Linked DNA regions of Homo sapiens: regions 2 and 3 are each linked to region 1. Evidence: promoter capture Hi-C in human tissues and cell types (Jung and others, 2019). All regions are on one chromosome and are shown on one strand. The core of a region is centred on a gene start or on the middle of the fragment in contact, and the rest is flanking DNA. Distances in the headings are between cores, read along the strand shown. Region 1 holds the start of MORC2 (MORC family CW-type zinc finger 2). Region 2 holds the start of LOC105372997 (a long non-coding RNA gene). Region 3 overlaps LIMK2 (LIM domain kinase 2).

The links. Contacts are between HindIII fragments. The study calls those that stand out against the background at their distance.
Region 2: a fragment that was not itself captured here is called in contact with the fragment with the promoter of MORC2 in region 1 in 1 of the 25 tissues and cell types used here (dorsolateral prefrontal cortex).
Region 3: a contact is called between a fragment that was not itself captured here and the fragment with the promoter of MORC2 in region 1, in 1 of the 25 tissues and cell types used here (mesendoderm cells).

What each region holds. Positions count from the first base shown.
Region 1 is chr22:30,967,524-30,972,561 of GRCh38, reverse strand. MORC2 (MORC family CW-type zinc finger 2) reads left to right here and starts at 3,788. Exons shown (of 26, transcript NM_001303256.3): 1 at 3,788-4,740. The coding sequence starts at 4,673. It overlaps TUG1 (taurine up-regulated 1), which reads right to left and starts at 3,297. Exons shown (of 3, transcript NM_001396518.1): 1 at 783-3,297. The coding sequence starts at 3,205. The coding sequence ends at 2,744. RefSeq lists a silencer at 2,777-3,026 and an enhancer at 3,057-3,386. The HindIII fragment of the contact is 8,152 bases long and covers 1-5,038 here.
Region 2 is chr22:31,300,816-31,305,853 of GRCh38, reverse strand. LOC105372997 (a long non-coding RNA gene) reads left to right here and starts at 3,068. Exons shown (of 4, transcript XR_001755493.3): 1 at 3,068-4,248. It also overlaps the pseudogene RNA5SP496. The HindIII fragment of the contact is 8,851 bases long and covers 1-5,038 here.
Region 3 is chr22:31,245,008-31,250,045 of GRCh38, reverse strand. The region is part of intron 2 of LIMK2 (LIM domain kinase 2); the gene reads right to left. Among named protein-coding and RNA genes, the nearest start is that of LIMK2, 35 kb to the right of the region's middle. RefSeq lists enhancers at 773-1,662, 1,663-2,553. The HindIII fragment of the contact is 8,275 bases long and covers 1-5,038 here.

The DNA.
Region 1 (5,038 bases), core at 2,539-5,038:
ATTTTTTGGTGAGGAGAGGAAGTGGCTCCACAAGTGCCATAAAAAGAACTGAGATTTTAAGTTTATATACCAACAATAAAACAAAGGAGACATTGCCCCTCTTCCTCTTCCAATGCCTTCCTCAAACTGTCTTATGACCTTCTCCTTTTAAAAAGCTGTCCTTTCATCTTAACAAGATTCCATCTTAAGTAGGAGAAAATAAGGTCTTGGTCCTTCTGTATGTAATACCCCATCATTCAACATATTGGTTTCTCCTTATGTCTGAGGGCTCCCTAGATCAAAATTTAGAATTAAAAAACATTAAAACATAAACATGATCCATATCTAGCGACTTTTCTCCTCATTAAGAGTAATGTAAGTTATCACATAGCAATTAAGAAAACACTTACTGAGTGGTTATTCTGATAGCCTGCTCTCTAAACTCCTCCTTCCTAATAAATGCATCTTGATATGTTGTGGTGTATGTGGGCAAAGATGCACTAAACAAGGACCCTGCTTTCAAGGAGTCTGCTATCTGCAAAGACAGTAAATGCAGGCAAGTAACTATTTTACAGGATTTTGTATACAGATAGAGGATACATAACGAAATGTCATAAAACTTTAAAGCTCTATTCTGGCTAGTTAGGAGACTCATGGAAAAGAGGGCATAAGAGTTGGATACTGAGAAAATGGCAGTTTTGACAGATGAAAAGCCACAGAGCAGCAGTTCCAAAGTAGAATGAGAGTATGAACAAAAGTGCAGAGATGGTAAAGGATAAGGCATTTTGGAAAATGGCAAGTACCATAATTCACTTTGGATGGAGCATCCTCAGTTTGCACTGAGGGTCTGGACAGAAACTCAGGTCTTCTAATTCCCAGTAACAGTGCTGGTGGTAGTGCTTGCTCAGTCGTTGTCTCTTTTCTCACAGCAAGGTCAACAGTCCCAAAATTCAAAAATAAAAAAAAATCTACCTCCAGTGTTCCTGCCGCATCGTGACAAGCTCTTTCGGGTTCCAGGTCCAGGTCTTGAAAATCTGGAAATCTGGAGTCCATGGCTGTGGCTACACTGAAAGTTATCTGCTCCAACTATTGCAGAACACTGTAGTGAAATCTTTTCAACCTCCAATCCTGGACATCTCATGTTTTGCCACAGAATTTCAAGCTTTGAGTTCCAGTTGTTTTTTTTCCCTCCTTTCTGCTGAGGAAAGCATCTTATCACCACAGTCTTAAGTCTTTTGAGGTACATCCGGATTTAATTACAAAAGAGCAAAAAGACCAACACTTTTTTTTCTCCAAGTCATTTCTCTGGAAGTGAGATTATCTGTCTCTGCCCTTTAGGAAAAGGGAATAGTCAATTGATTTTTTCAGACATTTGAATGAAATAGCATAACTGGCTAACATCTAATCAGACAAAATACACTTAAATGTGTTTGTGTTCACTTGCTTAGGGCTGTACCACTTGGTGAGCACCACTCCACAAAACGAAAATGTTTGAAATCCAATTGTTCAAACATTTTTATAGTGTTTGTTGGATAATGGCCTGAAATTTGATAAAAGCAGCTGACAACTAACAAAGAAGCAAAAACTGGCATCTTGGACATCCTAGTATTACACTTGCAAGCAATTAGAACACAAGGAGGGCCAAGGAAAAAGTTTAGCTTTGAATCACTTCCAAATCTACTGATTTTGAGGTTCCGCAGTAGTTCTAACAAAACTTTTCAGACAATGTTAACTTTCGATTAAGAAAGAAAAAAACCCCAAACATCTTCAGGAATTCCATGCCAGGTTCAGTCTCTTCCAGTGAGCCCGCTTGCTAAAAGTCCACGTGCACCATTAATTAGCTGGGCTGGCAGCACCATGTAAAAAGAAGCCTATTCACCACCAACCACACAGCCTAGACATGTAAAGTAGGATCAAGTAATGGATGACAACCATGGTCGTGGAATATGGTCAATGAGAGTCAGAAAAGTACAGGCACCAGTACAAGCAGCAGATAACAGAGTTGACGGGCCAAAGGATAAAATAGGCTTATTTAAATAGGATGCTACAGAACACATCCACTCCTAATTGTAGCTGCTTTACACTGGGTGCCATTGTACCATATGCATCAGCCACCCTTCAGGCACCCCATGGTGAAAGAAAAGGATTCAGAATAGAAGCCAAGCAGGGGACTGTTGTTAACCCCGAATATCCATTATGCATAGAAACAGCTCACATATCCCAGGGACTCAAACAGGGCTTCAAAATGGTTGTGAAGGGTCCCAAATGACATCTAGGCCTCAGTTTCCTCTCTGTAGCATGAAGAAATTGTGATTCTTAACTCTTCTGGGTCACAGCCCCCTTGGAAAACTTGCTAGCGATGGATCATCATTCCCCTAAAACGCACATTCCCACAAATTCCCATCATTCCCCCAAACCGCACATTCCCACAATTTCAGGAAGTTTGGGGATCCCCAACTCCAATCCAAGGTTCCCAGGTTCAAAACCCAAGGATTGGGGAACTGCTAAGTTTTCTTACAACTCAAAAAAAATTATAAACAATAACCATCCTTTACGTACACCCACGCTTTATAGTTTACAAAGCGATTTCAACCCCACACACATTGATAGGCAGAGGAGGAAACTGAGGCGCAGACAAATTACAGAGTGACTCGCCTAAGGTCACTCCGCCAACTGGTGGCTAGGCCCGGAAGAAAACCCAGCTCTTCCGACTCCGGAGCTCGTCTCCCCACCCCGGGGCTGCCGCCAGAGCTCCCGCCCCTCACTAAGGCGGCATAAGGAGGAAAAGGCAAAGTAGAAATCCCACAACCAACCATCCTCCGGCCCCCTCCTGCCCCCCCAACTGGGTCCTTGCAGGCCCCGAAGGGTGGCGCCAGGCCTCCAAGCCGGCCCCGGCCACCCCCGCCTCCCCGGCCGCTCCAAATCCCGCGGCCGCTGCCGCCGCCGCCTCCCCCGGAGCGGGGCGGAGCAGCTGCCCGCCGCCGCCGACCACCCGGACGACTCCTCGTCGAATCGCAAACGCATAGGCCGCCGCCCGAGTTCTGCGTACGAGAAGAAAGACGCGGCGCGAGCGCCAACGGCCACCGGGCGCGCGCCGCGGCGGCCGGGCCTGCGCCCCAAGAGCTGGATGCCAGAGCAGGAGAAAGAGCCGCCAACCGATCGCTCGATCGACCGCACGCCCGTTCCTTCGCCCTACCAGACCCGGGAGGGGGGGAGGGCGCGCCAGGGCTTCTTCGATTTAGGGGCCTGACTCCCCGGCGACGAGACAAGATGGCTCCTCCGGTCCGCACCGCAGCTACCGTCCCGGCTGCGTCGCTCGGCCCGCCCCCGGTACTGTTTCTTTAAATGGCGGAGAGGGTCAGGAAAGCAGGAAGAGAGGCGCACGCTGTCACGTGACAGGGGCGGGACCGGCCAACCAAGATCCGGTCACATGGGGACACGCAGCCCGCCAATCAGGAGGCTGTACATCAGGGCGGGGGCGGGAGGAGCTGCAGCTTTGTGATTGGCTGAATGCTCCGCGGAGGCCTCGGGGGCTTGGGGCGTCGGGGAGTGTGCGAGGTGGCCGGGGCTGTGTGCACTATCGGAGACAAAGCGGTGGCTGTGGTGTCTGTGACGGCGGCGGCAGAGCAGCTCTAAACGCCGAATTTCGTGTTGCTGAATCCTGTCACCATCTCAACTAGCGCGGCGCGCGGGCGGCGCGCGGGCGGCGGCGGAGGCAGCGGCGGCGGCGGCGGAGGCGGCAGCAGCACATGGTTCCAAGAGCGCTCTGCGGCTGTTGGGTTCCAATTCCGCGGGGAGGGACAAAGGCAGTTGTGAGATCCGGGTAGTGCCCGGTCAGGTGGTGCGCTCGCCACTGCCCTCGATCCGGTCCTTGGAAGCCGGGAGTAGCTCCTCTTCGTGGGGAGGCGGCCACGGGACCGAGGCCCGGGAAGGGCCTGGGAGGCTGAGGCTGTTGTCTGAGGGACGTGGGGGCGGGGCGCGGCCTGCCCGAGGTGCTGTGGGCGGGTCATTTGTGAGGTGTTTATGTGGGCCAAGTGTGAGGTAATCTGACCACCACCCTGAACTGGGTTTGGTCCGGCTTTGAAAAAAGAAATCGTGAGTGCCTAGGAGCTTTTTCACTTGGGAGGTGGTGAAGCTGCAACTTGCGCCATATAACACTCCGTCGACATCTTGGTCTCCGGTCTTGGGCCTGTTTAAGAATCCTGGCATCACGTGTGGCGAAGACATGGCTGATCAGTTTTCTGACAGAAGTGGGTAAATTTCCGCGTTGGTAAATTTCCTGACAGGAAATTTCGGGGAACCAAAAAAGGCTGGAAGAACATGAAGATGGAGCAGTCATAAACCACCCACTCAAGGACCATCTCCTTCAGGACCATCCACACGAGACTCAGATTGTCTGAATTGAGCTATCGCAACTTAATGCTAAAAGCTCCTTAAAGCTACAGATTTATGACATAGTTCCTTCCAAAATATTACATCATAAATCATTGAGAAGATTAAAAAAAAACACTTGAAGAAATTGTAGTTTTAAACATCTCTGCATATATTTTGGATAGCTACTAGGTTACTTTAACTGTCATTAAGGAGCACAGACTTACTGAAGCTTTACTGGACAGAATCCTGGGAAATCGATATCATTATAAGGTTATATTTCCCAGTTAGCGGGTGAAGGGCTGGAGACCTTATTGCAGTCATGGCTTTCACAAATTACAGCAGTCTGAATCGAGCTCAGCTAACCTTTGAATATCTGCACACAAATTCGTAAGTATCCTCTAGGTGCCACTGAGGTAACCAGTAACTCGTTCCTTGATATTATATGGAAATCGTTTCCCCAGAAAATTTTGCTTTTTCACTTTTTGAGATGTATCCCACTGGAGTGAAATGTGTCACTGGATATCTTGAGCTCTGTATTGAAGAACTGAGATCAGTGAAATACTTGTTGCTAATCCAGAAGAATCTGATTTTTGTTTATTGGATCAAAATTTTCTAAATGCAAACTTTAGTTATTTGAAGTCAATATGTTGAGTTGTTTCATTCAAGTGTTTATAGGAATCCAACA
Region 2 (5,038 bases), core at 812-3,311, 340 kb before region 1:
GCCAAGGTGGGTGGATCATAAGGTCAGGAGATCGAGACCGTGGTGAAACCCCGTCTCTACTAAAAATACAAAAAATTAGCCGGGCACGCTGGCGGGCGCCTGTAGTCCCAGCTACTCGGGAGGCTGAGGCAGGAGAATGGCGTGAACCTGGGAGGCGGAGCTTGCAGTGAGCCGAGATCATGCCACTGCACTCCAGCCTGGCTGACAGAGCGAGACTCCGTCTCAAAATAATAATAACAATAATAATAATAATAATAATAATAATTATTATTATTATTATTTAAAAAAGAAGGAGATCAGAGGTTGCCAGAGGGTGAGGAGAAAGGAAAATGAAGAGTGGCTGCCAACAGGTACTAGGTTTCTCCCATCTGAGTACTAACCAGACTCAACCCTGCTTAGCTTCTGAGATCAGACAAGATTGCACATGTTCAGGGTGGTATGGCTGTAGACAGGTACCAGCGTTTCTTTTTGGGGTGATGAAGTGTTCTGGAATTAGATAGCGGTGATGGTTACACAACCTTGTGAATATACAGACATGAGCCACATAATGATGTTTCAGTCAACAGACCGCATATATGACAGTGGTCCTATAACACAGTGGTCCCCAACCTTTTTGGCACCAGGGACTGGTTTCATGGAAGACAATTTTTCCATGGACTGGGGGTGATGGGGGGATGGTTTCAGGATGAAACTGTTCCACCTCAGATCATCAGGCATTAGTTAGATTCTTGGAAGGAGTGCGCAACCTAGATCCCTAGCATGTGCAGTTCACAATAGGGTTCACACTCCTATTAGAATCTAATGTCACCACTGATCTGACAAGAGGCAGAGCTCAGATGGTAATGTTTGCTCACCTGCTGCTCACCTCCTGCTGTGCTACTGGGTTCCTAACTGGCCACAGCCCTGGGGTTTGGGGATCCCCGCTATAAGATTATAATACCATATTTTTACTGTACCTTTTCTATGTTTAGATACACTAATACTTATCATTGTGTTAAAGTTGCCTATAGTATTTAGTACAGTTAGATGCTGTACAGGTTTGTAGCCTGAGATCAGTAGGTTACACCATATAGCCTAGATATGTAGTAGGCTGTCCCGTCTAGGTTTGTGTAATTATACTCTATGATGTTTGCATGACGCATTTCTCAGAACCTATCCTTGTTGTTAAGTGACGCACAGGTACTAACAACTACTGAACTGTATGCTGTAAAATGATGAATTTCATGATATGTGAATTGTATCTCAATAGAAAAGAGCATTTATAAAGTTTTTGTTGCTAAATTTATTTACTTTCGGTAAATTTTCTTTTAAAAGATGTCTATGTTTTACTGTCTTCGTGGTGCTGGGACATAACTGACATCTGAAGCCTTGAATGCCTCTCTTTGCAAACTCATTTGTTACTACTCAGTTACCATCTCACCTCCAATACCCAACTGCATACCAAACCTCTAGCCATTACTAGAACACATACTCTGAGCTCTGCCATACTTTAGCGCCTGCACACATGCTGTTTCTTCTGCTCAGAAACTTTTGTGCCTTCTGTCCATCCCATCCAAGCCTGTTTTTCAATGCCCAACACAAATGTCACTGGTACCCTGAAACTTCAACTCCTCCTTGCCCCATCTCAGAAAATGTAACTTTCTGTATTCTTCTCTCTGTATATTCCTCTAAAGTGGTATTTCTTATACTATACCATAATGACCTGGTCCCATATTTGTCCTCTTCTTCCCTCTTCATCCCAGACTGGGACCACAAGGAGGTAGAACTTTTTCTGTTTTTTTTTTTTTTTGAGACAGAGTCTTGCTCTGTCGCCAGGCTGGAGTGCAATGGCACGATCTCGGCTCACTGCAACCTCTGCCTCCCGGGTTCAAGTGATTCTCCTACCTCAGCCTCCCCAGTAGCTGGGATTTCAGGCGCACATCACCATGCCCAGCTAATTTTTGTATTTTTAGTAGAGACGGGATTTCACCATGTTGACCGGGATGGTCTCGATCTCTTGTCCTCGTGATCCGCCCGTCTCAGCCTCCCAAAGTGTTGGGATTACGGCCATGAGCCACTGCGCCCGGCCGGAGGTACAACTTTCTTAGTCAATCTTGAGCACCAGTGTAGTGCTTAGAATCGGGTAGTGAGAGAAGCTAACATTTACTGAATGCCTAAGAAGTCCAGGGCACATAACAGTCTTCACAACCATCCTGTGAAGTACGTATTACCCTATCCATTTTACAGATAAAGAAACTTGAGTTTCAAGAAAGGTATACCTAAGGTCATTCAACTTGTTAAATGATGGAATGGAGGAGTTGAGACCAGATTGGACTTCTGCCTCTTTTTTTTTTTTTTTTTTTTTTGAGACAGGCTGGAGTGCAGTGGTGTGATCTCAGCTCACTGCAAGCTCTGCCTCCCAGGTTCACGCCATTCTCCTGCCTCAGCCTCCCAAGTAGCTGGGACTACAGGCGCCTGCCACCACGCCCGGCTAATTTTTTCTACTTTTAGTAGAGACGGGGTTTCACCGTGTTAGCCAGGATGGTCTCAATCTCCTGACCTCGTGATCTGCCCACCTCGGCCTCCCAAAGTGCTGGGATTACAGGCGTGAGCGACCGCGCCCAGCCGAACTTCTGCCTCTTAAATCCAGGGTTCTCCCTGTCAGTACAGTGAGGTGGTAACTAGCAAAAGCTATGAGATATGACTGCCTGGGTACATATCCCAGCTCTTTCACTTATCTTTGTGGCTTTACGCAAATTACTTAACCTCTTTATGATTGTTTCTTCATTTGTAAAAGGAAGATAATAACAGTGCCTATATATAGGGTTTTTATGAAGAATAAATGAGATAGTATATATAAAGCACTTAGAACAGTATCTGGCACATACTAGGTGCTCAATAAATGTTAGCGATGACATTTATTACTGTCCCACATTGAGCTGGTGTTTGTTAAACACTGGATGACTGGATAAAATGTACATCTTTCATGCAGAGATTGCTCGATTATCCATTTCACTGATTCAGGATCAGAGTCTCTTAAGAATCCAGAGAGGGGATGTTGAAGCCCTAAGAAGTAAAAACACTAAAATGATAACATTTTGACCTTTTGAAAACTCTTTGAAGTGGCAATGGCCACAAAATTGAGCGGAAACCAAACATATTCAGCCCCATTTCCAGATAAATTGGATTTGCTAAACCACTCAGAATAACAAGAGCAAGAATTAGATGTTCAGCTAAGCTCTAGCTTCTGATCCTAGATGGTGGCAATAACAACGATAGTATTAATGATAATAGCAGAAACTCTTAATATGTGTGAGGCATTCTTCTAAATGCTTTACATATATTAATTTAATGTTCATCGGAGCAGATTCTCCTACTGTATCCAAGAGATCAGAAATTCAGAGCAAAAAGCAGATTGCTGCCTGATAGCAGATCCACTCTAGGAATGGGGAGATTTTCTCATAAATCTAATGACTGGTGAAAGTGACAAGAGGTTAGTCCACTCAGTGTTGGAAAGGACAAGATCCTAGAAAGTGGAAATGCTCCACTATTGCTTTAGGGGGAACAGCCTGGCTACAACTGGGCAGACTTTCTATTACTAACATCAGGATAATAGGGAAGCTCCTGCCAATGCTGCATAGAACTAAGAACACTTAGCAGTGATGGCTGACTTCCAACTGAGCCATTAAGGTAAGTGTAGAAGAAAGCTCCAGGTAGAAATATCTTTGGGAACTCAGAGAACACACTGAGTGTTTGAAGCTGGTACTTAATCTATTATTGAACTCAGAGTTTGCCATTCTGGGGCCAATTTGAGTCCACTTATGACACCTCCCACAGCACTGCTCATTTCTGTTAACTGGGCTTCACAGAGGGTGAGAAGGGCAGCAATCAGATCATATAATTGGGCCTCATTGTAATAAAATGTTGATTTCTGTTGTCCTTGGACTTCCTTCCAGCCACAATCACTCTATGATCTTGTCTGAGATTCTTTTTCCTTTCTCTCTCCATTTTGCTGACTGTAATGGAATAATAGCAGAAGCTCTCAATCTGTATGAGGAATATATATGAAGAATGTGTAACATTCACTGTGTTTCCTAATAGATGAATTATCTAAAGGACACCTCTTAAGAAGAGATGAGATGGAGCCAACTGTCAGAAAAAAAAATGGGTGAAGAAAGTTTCAAGGAGAAGACTCCACAGAGCAGAATGGGAAAGATGGCCAGGAGAAAAGTGAGATAATAAAAGGAAAAGCAGTCCCTGACACAGAAGGTACTCAACAGCTATTTGCTGACTGAAAGAATAAACACTAATAAGAGAATGAAATACCAGGATTATAAAGAGGGAACAAAGATATTTTCCCATCTACTTTGTTGTTACCCCACCCAGGATATATTTAGGTTGGTGCAAAAGTAATTGCGGTTTTTGAATCGTTAATAGATTAACATCTAATTTATGTATTGTTTACATACATACAAATACAAACTACAACCATATATGATACATTTAAAGTAATACGCTAGGCACAGTGGTGCATATCTATAGTCCCAGCTGAGGTGGGAAGACTGCTTGAGCATAGGAGTTCAAGTCCCCTTGGGCAACATAGCAAGACCCTGTCTCTAAACAAAGAAAACAAAAAAAGTGAAGTAATTAATGCCAAACATTGCAATCAGGGTTTGGTGCACTTGAAATACACAAATGAGTGTTTTTACATGCTGAAGACACAGCAACCAACAACTGGGGCTAAAGTGCTGCATTCCTAAAGTTAACCCACAGAGCCTATCATGCCATGCCAAAGTTCACTGCTCCGGCTCCAAACCGGGGACTTTCCTTTCCTATTTCCTCTCCCTAACAGCTTAGAGCTACTGGACTCCATCCTTGAACTCCTCTGTTTACTAAAAATGTTCTTTATAAGCTATGAAATCTGGATTTGAGGTCTGGTTTCTTACTTCAACTTTGCAACTCATTTCCCACCCCGAGTTCACACAATCTCAAAATGTTCATGAATTTTATGGCTAGACCTAAAGCTTCTTTGTGCCTTCCTGCCAGCCTGCCTTTGTTT
Region 3 (5,038 bases), core at 1,863-4,362, 280 kb before region 1:
AACCTGCAGCCCCCTGAAGGATGAGAGAAAGTCAGGAAGACAGAAAAAGCTGCCCAGTGAGGCTCCATATGTTAACTCTGTTGAAACTGGTTGCCTCATCTGTAAAATGGGGATATATAATCTCTTTAGGCTGTTGAGAGATTAAAGGATAAAGTGTCTAGCAGGGCGCTTGGTAGAGTCAGCATTGAGGACCAGTTCCCTTCCCCCTTCCCCCTGTCCAGACACTTCCCAGCAATCTACCAGGGTCCGGTCATTCCACAAAACCACATGGTGCACTGCTTTTCTGCCCAGGGCCTGGCCACCTGACTAGTATCCCGGCAGCAAGATCTGGGCACTGGACCTAGCTTAGAGAAGCCAGAAGGGAAAAGTCGACCAGGACCACTGGTGAGGGGGAGGCAGCCTTTTTGGAACAACAGGCTGCTCCCAAAGAATGAAAACAAACCCCACCCTAGCCTGGAATGGCTCCATTCAGAAGGGACCCAGAGGGCCAGAAACCCCCTGGGGAGTTTCTATGGGAGGTGGAGTGGGGCAATGAGCAAAGAAAGCCAGGTTAGAGGTAGAGTTTCCACATCTCCCTCTGAGAAGCCCCACAGAGAGAGGCTCGTGGAGGTACTTAGGCCTAGGGACTGAGGAGGTGTGGGGGCTGGCCCAGCAGCTCAGGAACACTCTAAAGCCCATTGCTCCAGTCTTAGAAGCACTCGCCCAGGTCTTTCCCCAGCAACTACATTCACCTGGGAGCTCAGAAGCCCTTCAAGGCCAGAGGCAAATGTGCCTGCCATTAAGAGAACAAACGTTTATAAGGTGCCTACTGTGTACCAGGCTACCCACACCCAGGACTTGCCAGTTTCCACAGTTTGGCAAAACCTGCCCATCCTGCTTGTTGGGACAAATTCCTGGGCAGGCAGCATGGCCCGCAGGTAAGACATGTGAGAGCTGGAAACAGCACTCTATTTGGGCTATTCCCCCCGGAAGCAGTAACATCTACAATGGGCAGGTCAGTGGCATCTTTTGGAGGCTCCTTCAGGTTTGTCTGGGATAGAAGGGGAGCTGGAGCTCCCTAAGAAGTTCCTTCTGGGTATATCCCTCCCCTCACCACTTCCAGGACATAATGGGGGTACCTCACAAGGCCGATTCTCCTTGGGTATAACCTCCGCTGGCTTCTGCCCGGCAGAACCGATGGTAAAGGACTAAGTGAGAAGGAGATTTAGGGAGACCACCCTCCTCTCAGGACCAGGGGCCAGGAGAGATGGAGAGGGGAACTCGGAGACCAACTCACCGAAACAGGTCTCTGGAGGTGAAGTAAGCCGGGACTGACAAGTAACTCCCCATCTTCTTCCCACACCAGATAGACAGGCTCAGCTGCAAATCCGTCTGTGACTGCCTCAGGCCGGCTGTAGATGGCCACCATGACAGGCCCGGGGCTCCCGGCACCTCTGGCTGCAGGCAGGCTGCCCTGAGCTCACCTCTCCCTCCGGAGCAGCTGCGGGAGCCTGAGGACTCCAGGCCACTTGGCCCCCAGCAGATTCCCACAGGGGCTCATGGCTGGGATGGCTCCTCCCTAGTTCTCAGAAGCTCAGGCGGCCCCTCTGGACTCCGAGAAAACGACCTCTCTGTGGAGGCTACACACACACTGGCATTCTTGAGCAGGGGCCGGTGACTAGCTAAGAAAGAAGCGCTGCTGTCAAGTTAGCCTTCTTCTTCAGTCCCACCCCTGAATGAGGGAGGGAGGGAGGAAGAGGAGGGGCTCCCGCAGAACCGAGGTGTGTGGTTGGAGCAGCTGTTAGGAAACAGACCTTGCAGGCAAGGGGTGGAGCTGGGCTGGATCGAGGCTGCAGGCAGGCGCTGCAGACAATAACTGGGACCAATTGAGCGTCCATCCTGAGCTCAGGGAAGGGCAAGGCAGGATAGAGTGTGAACATATCTGGCCCCAGATGTCCTCAAGCAGAGGAGCTGCCTACAGGACAGTAATTCTGCTTGGAGGTGGAAAAAAAAAAAAAGCAGAGGATGCCAGGTCCAGGAAGAGCCACACCAGACGGGGGGACCTCTGGTAGGAGAGACAGGTCCAGAGAGCCATCCTAGCTCTGAGCTGCCATCTGTTCTGTCCTGGCACTAGGGCTCCCATTCATTCCCTCCCTCTGCCTGTCCTGGGGACAGCCTCAAGAGCTGACCAATGGGAGGTGCCACTTCCACTCCAGGGCAGGGCTGTGTTGCAAATAAGGAAACAAGGCCCAGAGTATTAACCTACACCTGATGTGTCTCCATGTGGCAAACACTATATGCACTCTTTTATTTCTCTGAGACAGGAATTATTCCCACTCTACAGACAAGAAAAGTGAGGTACAGAGAGATTAGGTAACTCACTCAAGGTCAAAAAGGGAGTCAGTGGCAGGGCTGGAATTTAAATGTAGGCTCATGTGACTCTAGAGCTGGAGCTCTCCCACTACCAGGCTTCATTCTGGCTCTTTAAGGAGAAAAATCTTTTCCAAAGCTCTCTGCAAATAGGATGGAGCCCAGGTTACTCTCATTCACTCACTATTCACTGAGTGTTCACATGCAGAACACCATCCATTGGCCTCAGTGGACAGTGGAGCTTCTTCTACTTGTCCTGTGATAACCATGCTTTTCAAACTGAAAAATGGGGCATGAGGGAGAAAAAGGCCTGGGGTGCCAAAAGGGATTGATAAGCCTAGGTATCTGGAATGGGAGCCCACCTGAACAGCCCCCAGTTGTGACGATGACCAAACCAGAGCCTACCATGTAGAAAGCCCTTGTCTCCCTGCCTGCAGGATTGTAAAGGAAAAAGCAAGGCTGCTGGAGGAAACCAGAACACTCAGATCTCACTACTGGATTTGGGGCAGTGACATCAGCTCTCCCTTACCAGGCACACACCGCTCACCATTGTAAAGAGCCAGAAGTCACCGTGCAGCTTCTATCTCTTACTGTGAACCATGGCAGGAAAGTCTGATAAAGATGGTAGATGGGGTTACAAGGGAGCCTTTTCCCATTCCACCAACTGGACACAGGGACAACAATGCATGTGATAAGAGCACATGGGTTTGAATACTGTTAAGAAGCTACCATTTATTGAGCAGTTAATATCTTCTAGGCCCTGTGTTAAGTGCTTAGCATTTATTATCCATCATGTTTAAATTGCCAGTAAAAGGAGGAAACGTCATCAGCCTCATTTAACAGATTAGGAAATAGGTTCTGAGGGGTTATGTCACTATTCTCAAGACAAATAGCTGATAAGTGGTGAGGGTGTTTTTTTTTTTTGTTTTTTTTTTTTTGAGTCAGGGTCTCTCTCTGTCACTCAGGCTGGAGTGCGGTGATGCCATCATGGCTCACTACAATCTTGACCTCGACCTTCTGGACTCAAGTGATCCTCTCACCTCAGCCTCCAGAGTAGCTGGGACTACAGATGCGTGCCATCACACCCAGCTGTGAGGCTGAGTTTCAAACCTGGTACATATGGCTCTAGAGCACAGGTCAAGGCACTTTTTCTGTAAAGGGCCAGAGAGCAAATATCTTAGGCTCTGCAGGCCATACAGACTGTCGTGGCCACTCAATTGTGTCATTATAGGGCAAAAGCAGCCATATATAAAACATAAACTAAGGGACATGGCTATGTTCCAACAGATATTTACTTATGGAAAGATTTTTTTCTTTTTTTTTTTTTTCTTTTGAGATTCAGTCTCACACTGTTGCCCTGGCTAAAGTGCAGTGGTATAAACATGGTTCATTGTAGTCTCAACCACCTAAGCTCAAGTGATCCTCCTACCTAAGCCTCCAGTGCATCCTGGGACCACACGTGCTGGCCACCATACCCAGCGTGTGTGTGTGTGTGTGTGTGTGTGTGTGTGTGCGTGCGTGCGTGTGTCGGAGTCTCGCTCTGTTGCCCAGGCTGCAGTGTAGTGTCGCGATCTTGGCTCACTGCAACCTCCGCCTCCCAGGTTCAAGCAATTCTCTTGTCTCAGCCTCCCAAGTAGCTGGGACTACAGGCGCATGCCACCATGCTCGGCTAATTTTTGTGTTTTTAGTACAGACAGGGTTTCACCATATTGGTCAGGCTGGTCTTGAACTCCTGACCTCAGGTGATCCACTTGCCTCGGCCTCCCAAAGTGCTGAGATTATAGGTGTGAGCCACTGCGCCCGGCCCTGGCTTATTTTTTTTTATTTTTTGTAGAGACAGGGTCTCACTTTGTTGCCCAGGCTGGGACACTGATATTTGAGTTTCATGTAATTTCCACATGTCACAAAGCATTCTTTTGCTTTTTTTCCCCTAACCATTAAAAATCACAGGTCATATAGGCCAGGCATAGTGGCTCATGCCTATAATCCCAGCATTCGAGAGGCCAAGGAGGGAGGACTGCTTGAAGCCAGAAGTTTGAGACCAGCCTGGGTAACAAACCAAGACCCTATCTCTACTAAAAAAATCAGTCAATCAGGCCAGTCATGGTGGCTCACGCCTGTAATCCCAGCACTTTGGAAGGCTGAGGCGGGCAGATCACCTGAGGTTGGAAGTTCGAGACTAGCCTGACCAACATGGAGAAACCCTGTCTCTACTAAAAATACAAAAATTAGCCAGGCGTGGTGGCACATGCCTGTAATCCCAGCTACTCGAGAGGCTGAGACAGGAGAATCGCTTGAACCCAGGAGGCAGAGGTTGCGGTGAGCTGAGTTCGTGCCATTGCATTCCAGCCTGGGCAACAAGAGTGAAACTCTGTCTCAAAAAGAAAAAAAAAATCAATCAATCACAGGCCGTATTAAAATAGGCAATGGGCCATAGCTTGCCGGCCTCTGTTCTAGAACCACAGAGCTCAACCACTCTGTTTACTACCTCTAATAGTGAAGAACAGCTCTTGGTGTTTGTGCAGAGCTCAGCCATATCTATCTATCTATACCACGAAGACACCACACTCTAGCCCCAGAGGCAGCCAGAAGAAGGAAGCACTGAACAGGTGCTCACCCTGTATTAAACATTGCTTGCAGCACTACTTGTATGAATGAATTTTAACCCCCACTATTCCACAGTGCTGTG